Linked DNA regions of Homo sapiens: all the other regions are linked to region 1. The links are contacts of gene promoters, found by promoter capture Hi-C in blood cells and fetal thymus (Javierre and others, 2016). All regions are on one chromosome and are shown on one strand. The core of a region is centred on a gene start or on the middle of the fragment in contact, and the rest is flanking DNA. Distances in the headings are between cores, read along the strand shown. Region 1 holds the start of MRPL36 (mitochondrial ribosomal protein L36). Region 2 overlaps CCDC127 (coiled-coil domain containing 127). Region 3 has its middle 4.4 kb from the start of PDCD6-DT. Region 4 overlaps AHRR (aryl hydrocarbon receptor repressor). Region 5 overlaps CEP72-DT (CEP72 divergent transcript).

Region 1 (2,782 bases), core at 138-2,637:
GCAATGTCTTCTATAGTTACTCATTTACACTGAAACGTGATGGGTAACTTTTAGGGCGTTTGCTTCCAGTCACTTTCCCCTGACTCCTTGATGTGATAATTCCTTCCATAAGATACAACCATTCTCCCAAGTGATGCGATGACGAGTATGTGCGTGACTCTGGAGGGAAAGGGTCTACATCTGTCTCTGCTTGTGCCTCGGATGGGTTTTACAGTAGACGTACCACCGACCCCGCCTCTTCACCAGGTAACAGTCCTTGCAGCGCTTCTTAAGGACAGTCTTGTTTTTGAACCCCAGCGCAGGCAGCAGATGGGGCAGGAGGCCGGGTGAGAGAAGTGAGCGCACTGCTGCCCCGGGTTCCACAGCCACGGGGGCTGCACCTCGAATGGATCCAAATAGAAATGTGGAGAGGGCTCGAGGCTTCACCGTGTGACGACTGAGATAGAGCAGAGGGTTCACCATTTTCCTTATAAAAAGATTTGCCATGTTGTGGTGAATCTATGGGAGAGAGAAAAAAAGGAGTTATAGCTTCTCCTGCACTTCCACCTGCTCTTTAAGGCTTCCTTTTCTCTGTTTCACTGAGGCTTGGGAAGGCAGGGACCTCGGGGACTGAGGGTGTTCCCATACCAGCTGCAGCCTCGACCTGAGCTTGAACACTGCCTTAATCAGCCAAGTGTGCCAGGAGAATAAGGGGCAGTGGACGGTGGCTTCCTTCCCTTTCCCGCCTGCTGCAAGTGTAGGTGAGTGTGCAAAGCCCTGCGATGTTGAGGAGCCGCTCACTTGGCTGGGAGGGAGCTTAAACTTAGGCCGCATCCCTTTCCAAACAGACACCAGGTCAAGGACGGTTCAACTGATGAGCTCCTCCCTCCAACTCTTCCCAGACCCAGGGGCCCTCCCTCGGGCCAGTTTCGGGACAGGCCCCCGCTCCGGAAGAGCACGGAACTCTGGCACCCCGGTCGCCCGCCCCTGCTTCCCCACGCGCCCCGGCCCTTAGGGTTCAGCGGCCCCGGCTGGGAAGAGCTGGGCCTGCAGGGCCCGGAGGACACTGCGGCACCGGAGCCGGCCCTGCGCGCGGGCTGTGAGGTCGCGTTCGGGAGCCGCCAGTTCTCCCGCCCCGGGGTCGCTGGACACCCCCTCCTGTCGCCAGGTCGGGCGCCCACGGTCGGACCCGCACCCCCCAACCCTGGCCCTCTGAGACCGCCAGGCCCCGGCCCACGCTCCTCTGACCGCAGCCCACTCGGGGAGACACGCCCGAGGGTCCCAAGGTGGCCGGCCCCACCCTCTCGCAGCCCCCACTCTCAAGACACCCGGGACCCCTGACCTGAGAAGACGGCTCCCTTACCCGGCCGCACGCTCTCACCCGGCGCCGACCCCTGCGTCTGCGCACTGGCACGCGGACGCTGCTGCCAGGAAGGAAGATGGCGGCGGGGGGGGGGGTCACGTGGCGTGCCCACGTCCAGTGCGGGGCGCAGAGACGCAGCAGCGAGTGCGCAGGCGCTGGAGTGCGACGTATCACTCCCCGACTGCGCGCACTCTGCGGGCCACCGGGATCGTCGTGCTGTTTGGAGCGCTCTCGGGAAAAAAAATGCAAAAACCAGGAACGAAAATGGATATCCGCAACGAAAAAGAAATTACAACCACTTAGGCCTTAGAAAAAACTGGCAAATACCAATGTCAAAACAAACTGAGAAAGAGGACATGTTTTTAAGTGGACAGGAGAAATGTAAACAGGCTCCGGGAAACGAGTGGAGACGGGCAGTAGTTTCAACTGGTTACGGCTGTTTTCCCCAACATTATGAAAAACTTCGGACATAGAGAAAAAGGGAAAGAACTGTACGGTGAACACCCATATACTTGCCACCTAGATTCTACCCTTAGCTCGCTTATCCCTGCCTTTTCAGGTATCTACCCGTAACTCCATTCGCCTTCCTTTTTGTGTGTGTCCGGGTGAGTTGCAGACGTGGCTGCGTCCACTCCGCGCTCCCTGCAGGCCCCAACGCTTCATCGCAGCGCCCACTTTTTCCACCTGACCCGGCGAACACCGGGCGGGCCGCTGGAGTTTATCAGCTCCAGGACAAATCTGCCTCTGACCACCACGTTTGCTGGGACATCTTTGGGACCGGAGGTTTTCATGTGCATTCTTGTTTCTCATGCCTTTCCTCCTCTTTATCATCTTCCCCGCCACTCATCCATCTCTAGTGTTTTGTTCTTGGAGTCACGTGGTCCTCAGGCTCTGACCACAGCAAAAGAAAAGCTGGATGCTGGAGCTTAAGCTGGGATTTATACCCAAGTCAACTCTAAGCAAAACGGGCCTTTTTAGAGGCTGTATTTGCATGCTGTAAAATCAGTCGGTGTACTAGGCTTTGTTGCAGAAATCCCCAATATACGTTTCCTCTGCGGCTCCCCGTAACCACACACAGGAACGCTTGCCTTGAACGAGGAGAATGCACTTCCAGTCTCGTCTGCTAAGCAGTTGACTCCTTCACCCAATAATTTTGATATTTAAATGTCTCATGATTATCGGTTACCATAAGAATATAAACAATGTATTTTCAGTTTACATCCTCCCCTGCCTGTCCGCTAAATAAGAACCACTGGGTACTCCTAATCGCTGAAGGTTTCGCACACCATTGCCTGCCTCATCAGGGCCCTAGCTCTAGCCTGCGGCTGCAACTGCATGAGGCTGCACCTGCCGGCGCAACGGGGCCGCTTAACTTTTAGGCCATTGATGAAAAGTCAAACAAGCGCACAGTACTCGGTGTAATCAGGGGCATTTTTAGCG
Region 2 (2,782 bases), core at 96-2,595, 1.6 Mb before region 1:
GTATATATCATTGCTAATAAGTATCTGCTTGCTGAATACAGACACAAGCCAAATTCCAAACACACATTAGGTAACAACTGGATACAACACACACACATTAGGTAACAACTGCATACAACACACACACATTAGGTAACAACTGCATACAACAAACACACATTAGGTAACAACTGCATACAACAAACACACATTAAGTAACAACTGGATACAAGAAACACTTGGTATTTCCCCTTTATGGAGTGAGAGAGATCTTTAAAATATAAACCCTTGATAATATAATATTACTACTTCCTATTACCTGTTATGCAGTTCTACACATTATCTGACAAATTCTTAATGTAATCTGGTGACAGAGAAAAATAATTTGAGGAGAAAGTATTTAGGGAGTGATGAAACAGACAGAAAATTACTTGTGGTAAGGACCAGTATTGTATTTGACTTTTTAAAAAACCATTTTTACCCTGGAGCTAAAATACGAGGTTATACTGTTCTGCTTAATACAATACTGGCAGCCTAAAAATGCTTCAAGAAACCATATCCCCAACAGCGGCAGAGCATCGGGAGGAGACCCTCTGTCTCTGAGGCTTCGGTGCACTTCTGCTCAGACGGTGGCGGGAGTGGAGGTCGCTGCTGAAGGGTGACGGTGTGGCCATGACACGGGCAGCACGGGAACGGAAGACGCCGGAGACCCAGAAGGCGCATGACTGCCTGGCCTCGAGTCACTAAAAGCAGTTTGATTTCACTCTTGTCTTACTTTTCTAGTATGGCTTCCTCTACTCTCTTAAACTTCTTCAGTTCGACAACGAGTTCCCAGTATTTGAGATAGAGCCACATGAGTCTGCCATTCTGGCGTTTGTTGGTGTTCCAGACATCACCACAGTATGTATCATGCTGAAATATGTCGGTGAGACCGGCTGCCATCTCTAGGTCAGCGGCGACGGGGTCGACGGACGCTCGCACCAGTAAGCTCTTCTCTATCTCCAGCCGCTTGCTGCGAGGAAGAAACAGACTGCAGTAGATATTCTGTCTTTCTGTGAGAACAGCTTCAAATTCTTTCAGCAAAAGCCTGGCTCTCCTTTGCCAGTTTTCTTCCCTTTGCAGGCAGCTCAAATACGCACTTCTCAAAGGCTGCACCTGTCTTTTTTCTTGCATCACCTGGGCCCGTTCCTGTTCCAGAAGCTTCTTTTCTTCTACCAACTTGCGTCCCTGAGAGATAAGGGCTTCTCGGTAACTAGCAGTTCTGTTTTGTTCCTTTTCGAGTTCCAAGGACAACTGAGCGACAGCACGCCGATTTTCTGAGATCATGGCGTGGTACTTGGCTTCCAGATCCTGTTGAAAAGCAGCAGTTCTCCGACGGTAGGCTTCTCTCTCTTTTTCTACTTCTTTCTGGGACTCCCTAGACCAAATCCAACCTGACATGAATGAAGAAAAATACACATAATGAAAAAGTTAGGGCTGAAGTTCTATAATCCTCACTTAAATCATAAGGCAGCTAAGGATAGTGTTTCAGTAAAAGCTTAAGACCTCGGCTGTACCAAGAAGATCACTTCTACGTGAAAATGTGTAACAGGCCAAGTTCTTATCTGAAAACCAGGTAAGGGCTGGGTGACCAAAAGACCCTAACCCTAGCCCTTTCCGTCTTCTAACTGTTTGTTGCTAAGAAGATCTACCACCATTTGCCTGCTCCGGCTCTAGTACAATTGGCAAAGTTTAAAATGTTTGGGTCGACTTCAACTACCGTTGGCCAGGTTCTTATAAAAGTTGTATTTAGCTTTGCCCGGTGGCGACTAGTAAACGGCCTGAGTTTGAGACACTGCTTATGTTCTGATAAGGACACATAAAAATAAAGTGGGTTAAGAAGTTCAGCCTCAAGACACAGTGGGCCTCTTTCCTCAAACTGGAGACTGCTGGAATCTCACGAAAACGGGACGAAGATTGCTGGGAGGCTGGAGGGGGCACTGCCCGGCTCTGCCCCCTACACCAAGGAGCAGCAGGGCTGGCCTGCACTGCAGAGAAATCCAGCGCCTCTAAGACCGGATGACTCACACAGCCTGCTGGCCAGCAGGCACCTGGCTCCGTATAGAGCCACCAACCCTTTGTCCATCCCACAAGTAAGAGTTGGATGTGTTTCAACAATAAAAAAAGACCGTGTGATAACAGTTCCATCCACATTCCGAACTGATGCTGCTCAATAATTTCATGCATGTTGGAGCAACTGCATGCTAAGTCTTAGTTTTCCAAACAGCGACGTGTTCTGCTTGTACATTCTAAAAGCAGCACGGAGTTGAGTCTTCTGGAAAACAGAACTGTTTGGCAAATTTTCAAAGCCCAAGGCCCCAAAAGCCACTGAGAGCAGCAGTCTGGGTTCCCTCGTGTGCTTCTATCCTGTAACCCCTCCCCTACTAACTGTGGGACTCCCTCGTCTGCAGCCCCTTCTAGAACCACTGGAGTTTCTATCAACTTTAATGGTTCTCTTCCTCCTCCTGCTGCCTCCCCCAACCCAGGTGGTGTCCTTGACATTCAATTATTTTCTCCCGGGTCATTAATGGTCACCTTTTTCTTCCAGGTCATTAATGGTCACCTTTGCTTTTCTCCCGGGTCATGAATGACCTTTGTGGGAGCAATTCCATAACAGCAAGATTTCCATTAGCCTGAAAGCCAGTCCCCCTTGGATATGCTGTTGACACTTCACTGAGTAAGCACAAAACCAAACTCATCCTTCCTCAACCAAAAATAGCTGCTAGTCCTACTTCAGATGACAACTCAAACTCACGTCACCTTT
Region 3 (2,782 bases), core at 151-2,650, 1.5 Mb before region 1:
CCAGTTACTCAGGAGGCTGAGGCAGGAGAGTTGCTTGAACCCGGGAGGCGGAGGTTGCAGTGAGCCAAGAGTGCGCCATTGCACTCCAGCCTGGGCAACAAGAGCGAGATTCTGTCTCAAAAAAAAAAAAAGAGTTGTCAAATTGCCACCCCAATGCTGTGGTTCTCTAACCTGTGTAACAGGATCACCTGGAGGGACCCTACCCGAGACCTTCCGATTCAGTCCTGGGGGAACCCTACCCCAGATCTTCCGATTCAGTCCTGGGGGGACCCTACCCCAGATCTTCCGATTCAGTCCTGGGGGAACCCCACCCCAGACCTTCCGATTCAGTCCTGGAGGGACCCTACCCCAGATCTTCCGGTTCAGTCCTGGTTCGGCCTGAGAATTTGCATTTCTAACATGTCCAGGGACCACAGTTTGAAAACCTCCACAGCTGACATGTAATGGGATGACTTGGTCCAATAAATGAAGGAAAAGTAACAGGTGGCAACCTCAGGCAGCTTCATCCCAACCAGTAAGAAAGTAAATCCTTTTGTAAACTAAGAGGAAGTATTAATATGGGCGTTTGAGCAAACATTTAAGTGTTAGGACAAAGAATTAAAAACTAGCACAGGCACCCCTGAAGCATGATAGGATGGCAACAGAAGGGCTGATTTAGTTTCCAAGAAATAACTGACAGGCAGTGTTGTGTGTGTGTCTACTGCTTAGGAACCCAAAACAAACCTTCAGACCATTTTCATGAGTACTGAGACCAGGAAAACCACTGGGCAGTGGGTGGTCTGGAAATGTAAATGTTTATAGTACTCCATGGAGTACTATATGAGTCATGGAACGATGTTTCATATTGAAAATGTTTTATAAATGTGGGTTTCAAGGTTTTAAAGTGAACCCATGTGTGTGAGGAGAAAGGACACACCAAAGAAGTAAAATAATTGGGTCAATATAAAAAGAAAGTAGAATATTGCCCAGAGAGGAGATGTGGATAATTCCTAACACGGATCAAAGGTGAGCTGTGTCTAAGACAGTCAGACCTGCACCGTCCCGTGCAGTAGACACCGTGGCCGCTGTGTCTGAGATATTCAGACCCTCGCCGTCCCGTGCAGTAGACACGGTGGCCGCTGTCTGTAAGATATTCAGACCCTCGCCGTCCCGTGCAGTAGACACGGTGGCCGCTGTGTCTAAAATATTCAGTCCCGTGCAGTAGACACGGTGGCCGCTGTGTCTAAGATATTCAGACCTGCACCATCCTGAGCAGTAGCCACAGTGGCAAGTAGCCTCTGCACTGGACAGTGCAGCTACAGAATGATGCTATCACTAGAAAGTTCCATCAGCCAGCACTGATGCAGACCTTTGCAAATGCCCCTCACACTGAATAGCACCTAGCTGATAGATTGTCCACTACTCAGTGAAAAGCCTGTGTTAAAAGCAGTATTTGGTAGAAAAGCAAAAAAGGGGAAAAAATTAAAAGTGGTAAGTCATTGTCTTCCTTACTGAATTCTAGCAGAAGAATGTTGGAAGGAAGATGGGAGTCACGGGAGAAAGTATCATTGTCCCAGGACAGGAGGGGGTGCCAGGCATGGTTGGCTCTGTCCCTGGAATTCTATGGCGGGAATCTGGAAAAAGGAAAAGTGACTGGAGAAGAAAAGATTCTGTGTGCAAATGTCATGATGCAGCCATCAGTCATCCTGAGAAAATAAGCGAACAAAGTGGCTTCAGATGGATGCTGTTGGATACATGTACAGATACAATGTACACTTGCATATGCTTGTTCACACAAAGGACAGGATGGTTATCTGTTCATTTAACAAATACTTGTTGAGGGCCTATATGTGCCAAAGACATCAGATGCATAAGAGGGTGCACTATGGAAAGCCTCAGGAACACAAGTGCCCAGAAACATTTAGAAAAATTCTAATGAAAACAGAAAAGGCATTTTCAAATTAGCTGAGAGAAACGAGACCAAAGGAAAGACTGACCCAGTATTTGGATACATTATGTGATGAACCTTAATGCAGGGAGGAAAGTGTTATCTTTCAGTTAATTTCTCAACTTCTGGAGAGCTTAGAACAGACCTGGCTAGGAGGAAATTGAATCTGAGGCAGATGAGGAGATAGTGGTGCCTTGATGCTTCCAGTGATTGGGTCAGCAGAACCAGGGGTGGGAGATGATCTCTCTTTTTGTTGGCAGATGGTGGTCTCTGCTGTAGCTTTGTCCCCTGGTGACGGGACTCAGGCAGCAACCCCCATCATTGGCAATACCCCCACCTCTGAGAATGTGGAGAGGACTTGTGAAGACAATGTTGTCCCAAGCAGCACAGCCCAGGTACTGACAGGATTCAGAGCTAGAGGTTTCTTAGAGGTCAGGGTTGTAGAAGCAGCAGGGACTGCAGCTGCATAGTTTGTGTATGTAACAGGCTAGTATCTCTTGTTCTAGACTCATCCATTTGTACATTCATATGAGTATGCACGCAGGGTGTTTTTTCTTTCTTTTTTTTTTTTTGAGACGGAGTCTCACTCTGTTGCCCAGGCTGGAGTGCCTGGTGCAATCTCGGCTCACTGCAAGCTCCGCCTCCCGGGTTCACGCCATTCTCCTGCCTCAGCCTCCCAAGTAGCTGGGATTACAGGCACCTGCCACCACGTCTGGCTAATTTTTTGTATTTTTAGTAGAGACGAGGTTTCACCATGTTAGCCAGGATGGTCTTGATCCACCCGCCTCAGCCTCCCAAAGTGCTGGAATTACAGCTGTGAGCCACCGCGCCTGGCCAGGGTGTTTTTTCTTTAAA
Region 4 (2,782 bases), core at 100-2,599, 1.4 Mb before region 1:
GTTGGCCCGCGGGTGAGGGACCCACCACCCCTAGGGACCCACCACCCCGCCGCACTGTGCATTCTGCCTCCTGTGTGGACGCCCTCTCTGTTGTCAGTGGCTTTGAGGTGTCAGTGCTTACTTAGATGCTGGTTTAATGCTGGACCCATTTGTTAAACGCACCTTCACTTTGTCAAAACCCAGGTTTGGTTGGCAGGACTGGGTCTTCTGCCCAATGCCAGGTGCCTGCGCCTCTCAGTGGCCTGGTTCTTGGACAGTTTGCCCCCATGTGGCAGGGATAGGGATAAGGATCTCCTCTCAGTACTGGAAGAGAACAGCCAACCATCTGAGCCCAGAGTCACAGATCCATCGTGGCCCCCTATGACCCCCAAGCCCTACCGAGGGGGCACTCACTCTCTGCTTAGCCAGGGGGCGTCTTTCAAAAGGTGACCTCCATGCTGTGCTGTCGTGGGTGTGAGACGTGCTCATGGCCTTCCACTGCCATCTCTCCCTTATCTGATGCCTAAAGTCACGATGGGGACAGAGCTACCCAGGGGCCAGCCATGGGGTGACCAGCCACCTGAGGGTCAGTCACCTGTGGAGAGCAGGCACCTGTGAAGACCAGGCACCTGAGGACTGGCGCCTACTTCCCACTTTGGCCCTACACTGGCACAGAGCCCCTCTTTATTCATTTCTCATGCTGAGCATGGCACACTTCTGGCCTCTGGGCATTTATGGATTTAAGACCAGGATGGTATTTCAGAAGCTTCCCACTTCCTTCCTATTCTAACCGAGTGCCCAGCTCCTTTGCTGATCATGGAAAGACCCTTAATAATTAGGCCTGCAGGCCAGGCGCAGTGGCTCATGCCTATAATCCCAGCACTTTAGGAGGTCAAGGTAGGAGGATCGCTTAAGCCCAGGAGTTCAAGACCAGCCTGGGCAACACAGGAAGAATGTGTCTCTACAAAAAATAATTAAAAATCAGATCTGCTGTATCCCTGAAAAAGTCTCAATCAACATGCATGTTCCACTCTTGGAGTTCCCTGTTCTGAGGGCCAGCCACGTCCTGTGTCCTGGAGCTTAGCCCTCAGCAGCTCCCTTCAGCCTGGGCGCCGCCTGGGTCCCAAACGTGGCAGCTGCTCTTCCAGTCTCGGGGCCGAGGAGGGCAGGGAGCTCAGTGACTGAGAGTCTTGTGTATCACATGTCTTGAGTGTCCTGGAGCCAACGGCTGTCACTGGGAAAAACACCAGGCCCCAAAGATCGAATCAGAGACGTGGCTGCGTGTTTGCGATTGTAGCCAGGCCCTTCAGTGTCATCAAAGGAGCACTGGGGCCTCCTTAAGCACAGACGGCAGCCCCTGCCCAGGAGGCTTCTTCACCACGTCCTGCCCTGCAGCCTCCCAGACCTTTAGATGCGCCCCTGCCCAAGGCCCTCCTGGTGACAGGTGCCAGATTGAGTGGTGGGTTGCTGCCAGGCAGGCCACGCTGTGTTGACGCTGCACTCAGCACGTGGGTGTTGGCTCTGCCGGTTTTGTGGTGTGGGGACCCTACAGGAGGCTGCGGCCCTGAGAGCCTGGGATCAGCGAGGTGTCCGACATCCCTTCCTCAACGGCAACAAAAACTCCCCAAGTCAGCACTTTGGTTATTTTATAGCCACAACCCTCTTGGAAAACAGTGGGGAAGACTATGGAACATAGAAAGTGTGGATGTATCACTTCTCTCTAAAATGTCATTGTTAGCACTAATTACAGGTTCATGTTTTTCTGTGTATGTAGCTTTTCCCTATATAGCTGAAAAAGTATTAAAGTCAAATATAAGGTGGGAATGGGATGGAAGGGAGGAGATCAATACAACTTATATTTTTGCAGTTTCTACTGGAAGAAAAAAGTTTTCAATACCTAGACCAACTTGTTGAATTTTTAAAACTTATGCACTATAAATGCAACTTTCTCTACTGCTTTCTCAGTGCCTTTAGGAAGCTTTCAAATTTTTTTGTACTGTGGTTTGTATTAAATTTGCAATATTGATGTAAAATACATGACATGCTAGTACATGTTTAACAAAAATTTAAATGTTTGCGGAAGTCTGCGTGATTTTCCAAAGTCACTTTATTTCCTTTAAAGAGTGTGCTGGTTAATCTACATTCTAAGACAGCCTTTCACCACTAAATATAAGGCAGCAATAAAAATAAAAACTCTAGAGCCGCAAGCCTCGTGAAGGAGGAGAAAATGCCTGCCATCTCCCTGCTCCTGACCAGTGGCATCTAGAGAGGGCCTAGGCCCCCCTCCCCTGTCACTGAGGGTCAGGGCCCCTCCTGGGTGCTCTCAGGACGTCCCAGACCTGACCCGTCCTGTAAGAAGTGAGGAGGGTAGAGCTGAGGGCACTGTGGGTCCGGGGCCATGCGGGGTCCACCCTGCCTGGCACAGGGCCTGCACGACAAGCCCATGGGAAGGGGGAAGGGCCCAGGCAGATTACGGCCAGACCCCTCAATGCCATCGAAAAAAGTGCTGGGGTCTCCTTAAGCACAAACGGCAGTCCAAGGCCCAGGGAGCTGCGCTTTTGTTTCCTTTCAGGCATCTTTAGAGCCTGCGCAGCCCCTGCCAGGCCTCCTTCGCACCCTGCAGCCCATCAGCAAACCCGTCCTGGTCACTCGTGTAAGACTCCCGTGTCCTCCCCCAGGACCAGGCCAGCCCTCCCATCTGTGGCCCCACAACTTGACCCACCCTGCCCCCCATGCCCTCTCCTCTGTGGCCTCAGGCAGATGGAGTTCCCGCATTTTCACTCCTCACCCCCAGTCTGGCTTC
Region 5 (2,782 bases), core at 156-2,655, 1.2 Mb before region 1:
TCTGAACACCCTGTGAAGTTGGTGAGAATTCAGGTGCCTATCGGCCGGGCTCCACCTGTGCACCAGGTGTGGCCGCCTCACTGTGACTTCAAAGGTCCCCGGGGAGGAAGGAGGCTCCCAGCTGCACACAGGTGAGTCAGTCCCATTGTTCCGTGTGTCTGAAAAATCAATCGGGTCCAAAGTAAAAATATTTATTTAATGAGCAGAAATGTATGGCCGATCGGTTTTTAAAGGATATTGCTTCCTGCTCCTTGATACTGAAAAGGGGCGTTAGAAGAAATTCATTTGCAGGGATTGAGTTCTGGAAATGGCCATTCTAGGTGAAATAAGGACAGAAAATAGCACAGCACCCGCCAAAGACAGCTCATTCTCTTCCTTGGGGTGCTGGGGGACACGGGCGCCCCTCGGGGGCAGGAGGATCCCAGCGGGAGGACACTGGGCACTGCGTGAAGTCTCCCCTGGGAGCCCCAGTGAGGGGCAGGTGATGGCCCCGAGTGTCCCTGGGTCTCCCAAACGAACGTCTGGGCTTCTCTGGGAGGAGGACTCCACCCTGCAGAAGAGAAGGGTCTGGGTCAGAACCCAGTGAGTCCGGGGCTCCCTCCGCCTCCTTTGCTCCCTGTGAGATGGGCACGGAGAATGAGTCCCTCCGTGGACGTGGACGCCTGGTGGTTCTCGGCCGAGATCGCACCCTCGTGGCACCTGCCGGGGACCGCCCAGCTCCTGCAGCTGCGGTCTCTGGAGAGCACCGCCGGGATCCCCACGGCTCGAGAACCCGCGGTGCGTTTTGTAGGGTCAGCATTTGCGTACTGGGTCTGCTGCACTCCCTTCCTCGCGCGGCTCCCCGTTCAGCTCCCTGCAGGCGTCGGGACCTTGCTGCGCGGCTCCTCTTCCAAAACCCACAAGGTTCTGAGTTCCTGGGGCTTTGTCCCCCCAGTCTGTGGCCGCCGCAGGGCCTCCTCCTGGACCAGCCCGAAGGGCACATGGGGATGGCGCCTCAGGGCTCCGGTAGCGAAGGCCACACAGAAGTCCCGAGGACCCTGGCAGCGGCCGTCTCCTGCGTCTTGGTCCCTGAGGACCCTGGGCCTTCCTGGCAGTGGAGGCTGGTGTCTCTCACTCTCTCCAGGTGCAGGCCAGCGCTCAGCTAAATGCCTTCAGAGCTCCGGCTGAGATGTGCAGCACCCGCCACCGTCAGTCTTCGTGTGTTGGGGCGTGATGGGGATGGTGTCTCAGTCCTATGTTCTCGTGCTGCTGTGTTTGGGATGTGTCAGTTTCCCATGACTGCTGGAACAAGCTACCCCAGCCTTAGGGGCTCAGAACAACACGCAGGACTCTCAGGCTTCTGGAACACGGCCCCCACTCCCTCCCGAGGCTCTGGGCCAGGATCCTCCCGTCGCCTCCAGCTTCTGCTGTATCGCTCCATGGCCGGCTCCTCTGTGCCTCTTCTCTCTGTGTCTCTCTTCTGTCTCTTAGAAGGACATTGGTGAATGCATTTAGACCCCCAGGCCCCACCCCCCGATAACCCAGGAAAAGCACCTCTTAAGATCCCTATGTTTATCACAGCTTTTGCCTCAGAGGTGACATTCGAAGCGCTGGGGTTTTGCACAGATTTTGGGGGAGGTCTTAATCAGCTCAGGTGGCCATAGCAGAAAACCACACACGGGCAACCCGAGCAGCAGACATAGGTTTGTTGAGCAGCAGACACAGGAAGCTCCCACCACTCTGGGGTGGAAGCCGGAGATCCTGGCACCAGCTGACTGGCCTCCTAGTGAGGGCCCTTCCTGGTTTCCCGGTGCGACAGAGAAAGGGGAGGGCAGCCCTCTCCTATGAGGGCACTGATCCCACTGGGAGGACCCCACTCCACACACCGCAGCACTGGGGTTGGGGTTCCACCCGTGACTCCTGCAGGAGCACAAACGTGCAGCCAATAGACCACATGCCTCTGGGCAGCAAAGGTCCCCTGTCACCTGCACTGCATTCTCCCGGTGCTGCCTCTGAGGACAAGGCTGGCTCCAGCGGGCTCAGTGCTGACTACCAGGATGCAGGAGGCCTGCCCGCTCGCCATAGCTGCGAAGCCGGCTGATTACATTTCAGGCTTTTGTTTATTCCCCATCCCAACCCGCTCCTTCATCCACACAGACTGCTCGGACCTGGACTCAGGCCAGGCTGGACACCAGGCAGACGGAGGGACGTCCCCAGCAGCCAGCTCCCTCTGTCCGAGCAGACGGAGGGACGTCCCCAGCAGCCAGCTCCCTGTGTCCAAACAGACGGAGGGACGTCCCTAGCAGCCAGCTCCCTCTGTCTGAGCAGATGGAGGGACGTCCCCAGCAGCCGGCTCCCTCTGTCCTAGCCCTGGGAAGGTGGGGTCCTCCAGAGCTCCCCTCCGCAGCCCCAGCCACTCCCATGCTCCAGCTCCTGCCCCCTCCCGGGGCTCTATCTCCCCACAGAGAAAGGGGGTCCCTCCGCTGGGCAGGCACAGCCTCCTTCCAGGCCTTGTTACGGGCACCTGCACACGTGCCTGTGCCACCTAAGCTGTGCCCGCGCCACCTAAGCTCTGCCCGCCACCTCGGCAGATGCCAGGGTCCACAGGAAGGCATTGGGTGCAACAGTCACTCAGCTGTTGTGTTTTCTTTCTCTTAGCCACAGTCTAGTCCTAGCAGCAGTGACCTTGGTTTGGAGCCCGGGTTGGGGACCCCAGTGATGCCAATTTTCTTTGCCCTCATCATCCCAAGGCGGCTGCTGCAGTTTCAGACATCACAACTTTGTTCAGCGCAAAGGAGAAGGG

Evidence for each region. The method cuts DNA at HindIII sites, captures the fragments that hold promoters and counts their contacts. A CHiCAGO score of 5 or more calls a contact.
Region 2: a fragment that was not itself captured here is called in contact with the fragment with the promoter of MRPL36 in region 1 in 1 of 17 cell types (total B cells); the score reaches 7.5 in total B cells.
Region 3: a contact is called between a fragment that was not itself captured here and the fragment with the promoter of MRPL36 in region 1, in 2 of 17 cell types (neutrophils and monocytes). The highest score is 6.1, in neutrophils.
Region 4: a fragment that was not itself captured here is called in contact with the fragment with the promoter of MRPL36 in region 1 in 2 of 17 cell types (monocytes and neutrophils); the score reaches 8.4 in monocytes.
Region 5: a contact is called between a fragment that was not itself captured here and the fragment with the promoter of MRPL36 in region 1, in 1 of 17 cell types (neutrophils). The highest score is 6.2, in neutrophils.

What each region holds. Positions count from the first base shown.
Region 1 is chr5:1,798,450-1,801,231 of GRCh38, forward strand. It overlaps MRPL36 (mitochondrial ribosomal protein L36), which reads right to left and starts at 1,388. Exons shown (of 2, transcript NM_032479.4): 1 at 1,343-1,388; 2 at 1-498. The coding sequence starts at 486. The coding sequence ends at 175. RefSeq lists a silencer at 858-1,267 and enhancers at 2,348-2,397, 2,458-2,587, 2,767-2,782. The HindIII fragment of the contact is 7,489 bases long and covers 1-2,782 here.
Region 2 is chr5:204,547-207,328 of GRCh38, forward strand. CCDC127 (coiled-coil domain containing 127) reads right to left here. Exons shown (of 3, transcript NM_145265.3): 3 at 1-1,412. The coding sequence ends at 751. Among named protein-coding and RNA genes, the nearest start is that of CCDC127, 12 kb to the right of the region's middle. The HindIII fragment of the contact is 337 bases long and covers 1,178-1,514 here.
Region 3 is chr5:265,703-268,484 of GRCh38, forward strand. It overlaps a transcript of SDHA not described here. Among named protein-coding and RNA genes, the nearest start is that of PDCD6-DT, 4.4 kb to the right of the region's middle. The HindIII fragment of the contact is 7,069 bases long and covers 1-2,782 here.
Region 4 is chr5:436,242-439,023 of GRCh38, forward strand. It overlaps AHRR (aryl hydrocarbon receptor repressor), which reads left to right. Exons shown (of 11, transcript NM_001377236.1): 11 at 1-2,044. PDCD6-AHRR (PDCD6-AHRR readthrough (NMD candidate)) reads left to right here. Exons shown (of 13, transcript NR_165163.2): 13 at 1-2,044. Among named protein-coding and RNA genes, the nearest start is that of EXOC3-AS1, 5.5 kb to the right of the region's middle. The HindIII fragment of the contact is 1,212 bases long and covers 744-1,955 here.
Region 5 is chr5:601,380-604,161 of GRCh38, forward strand. It overlaps CEP72-DT (CEP72 divergent transcript), which reads right to left. Exons shown (of 3, transcript NR_103444.1): 3 at 790-1,465. LOC105374608 (a long non-coding RNA gene) reads left to right here. Exons shown (of 8, transcript XR_007058672.1): 2 at 1-131; 3 at 2,638-2,782. Among named protein-coding and RNA genes, the nearest start is that of CEP72-DT, 9.4 kb to the right of the region's middle. RefSeq lists enhancers at 1,382-1,882, 1,883-2,383. The HindIII fragment of the contact is 3,558 bases long and covers 1-2,782 here.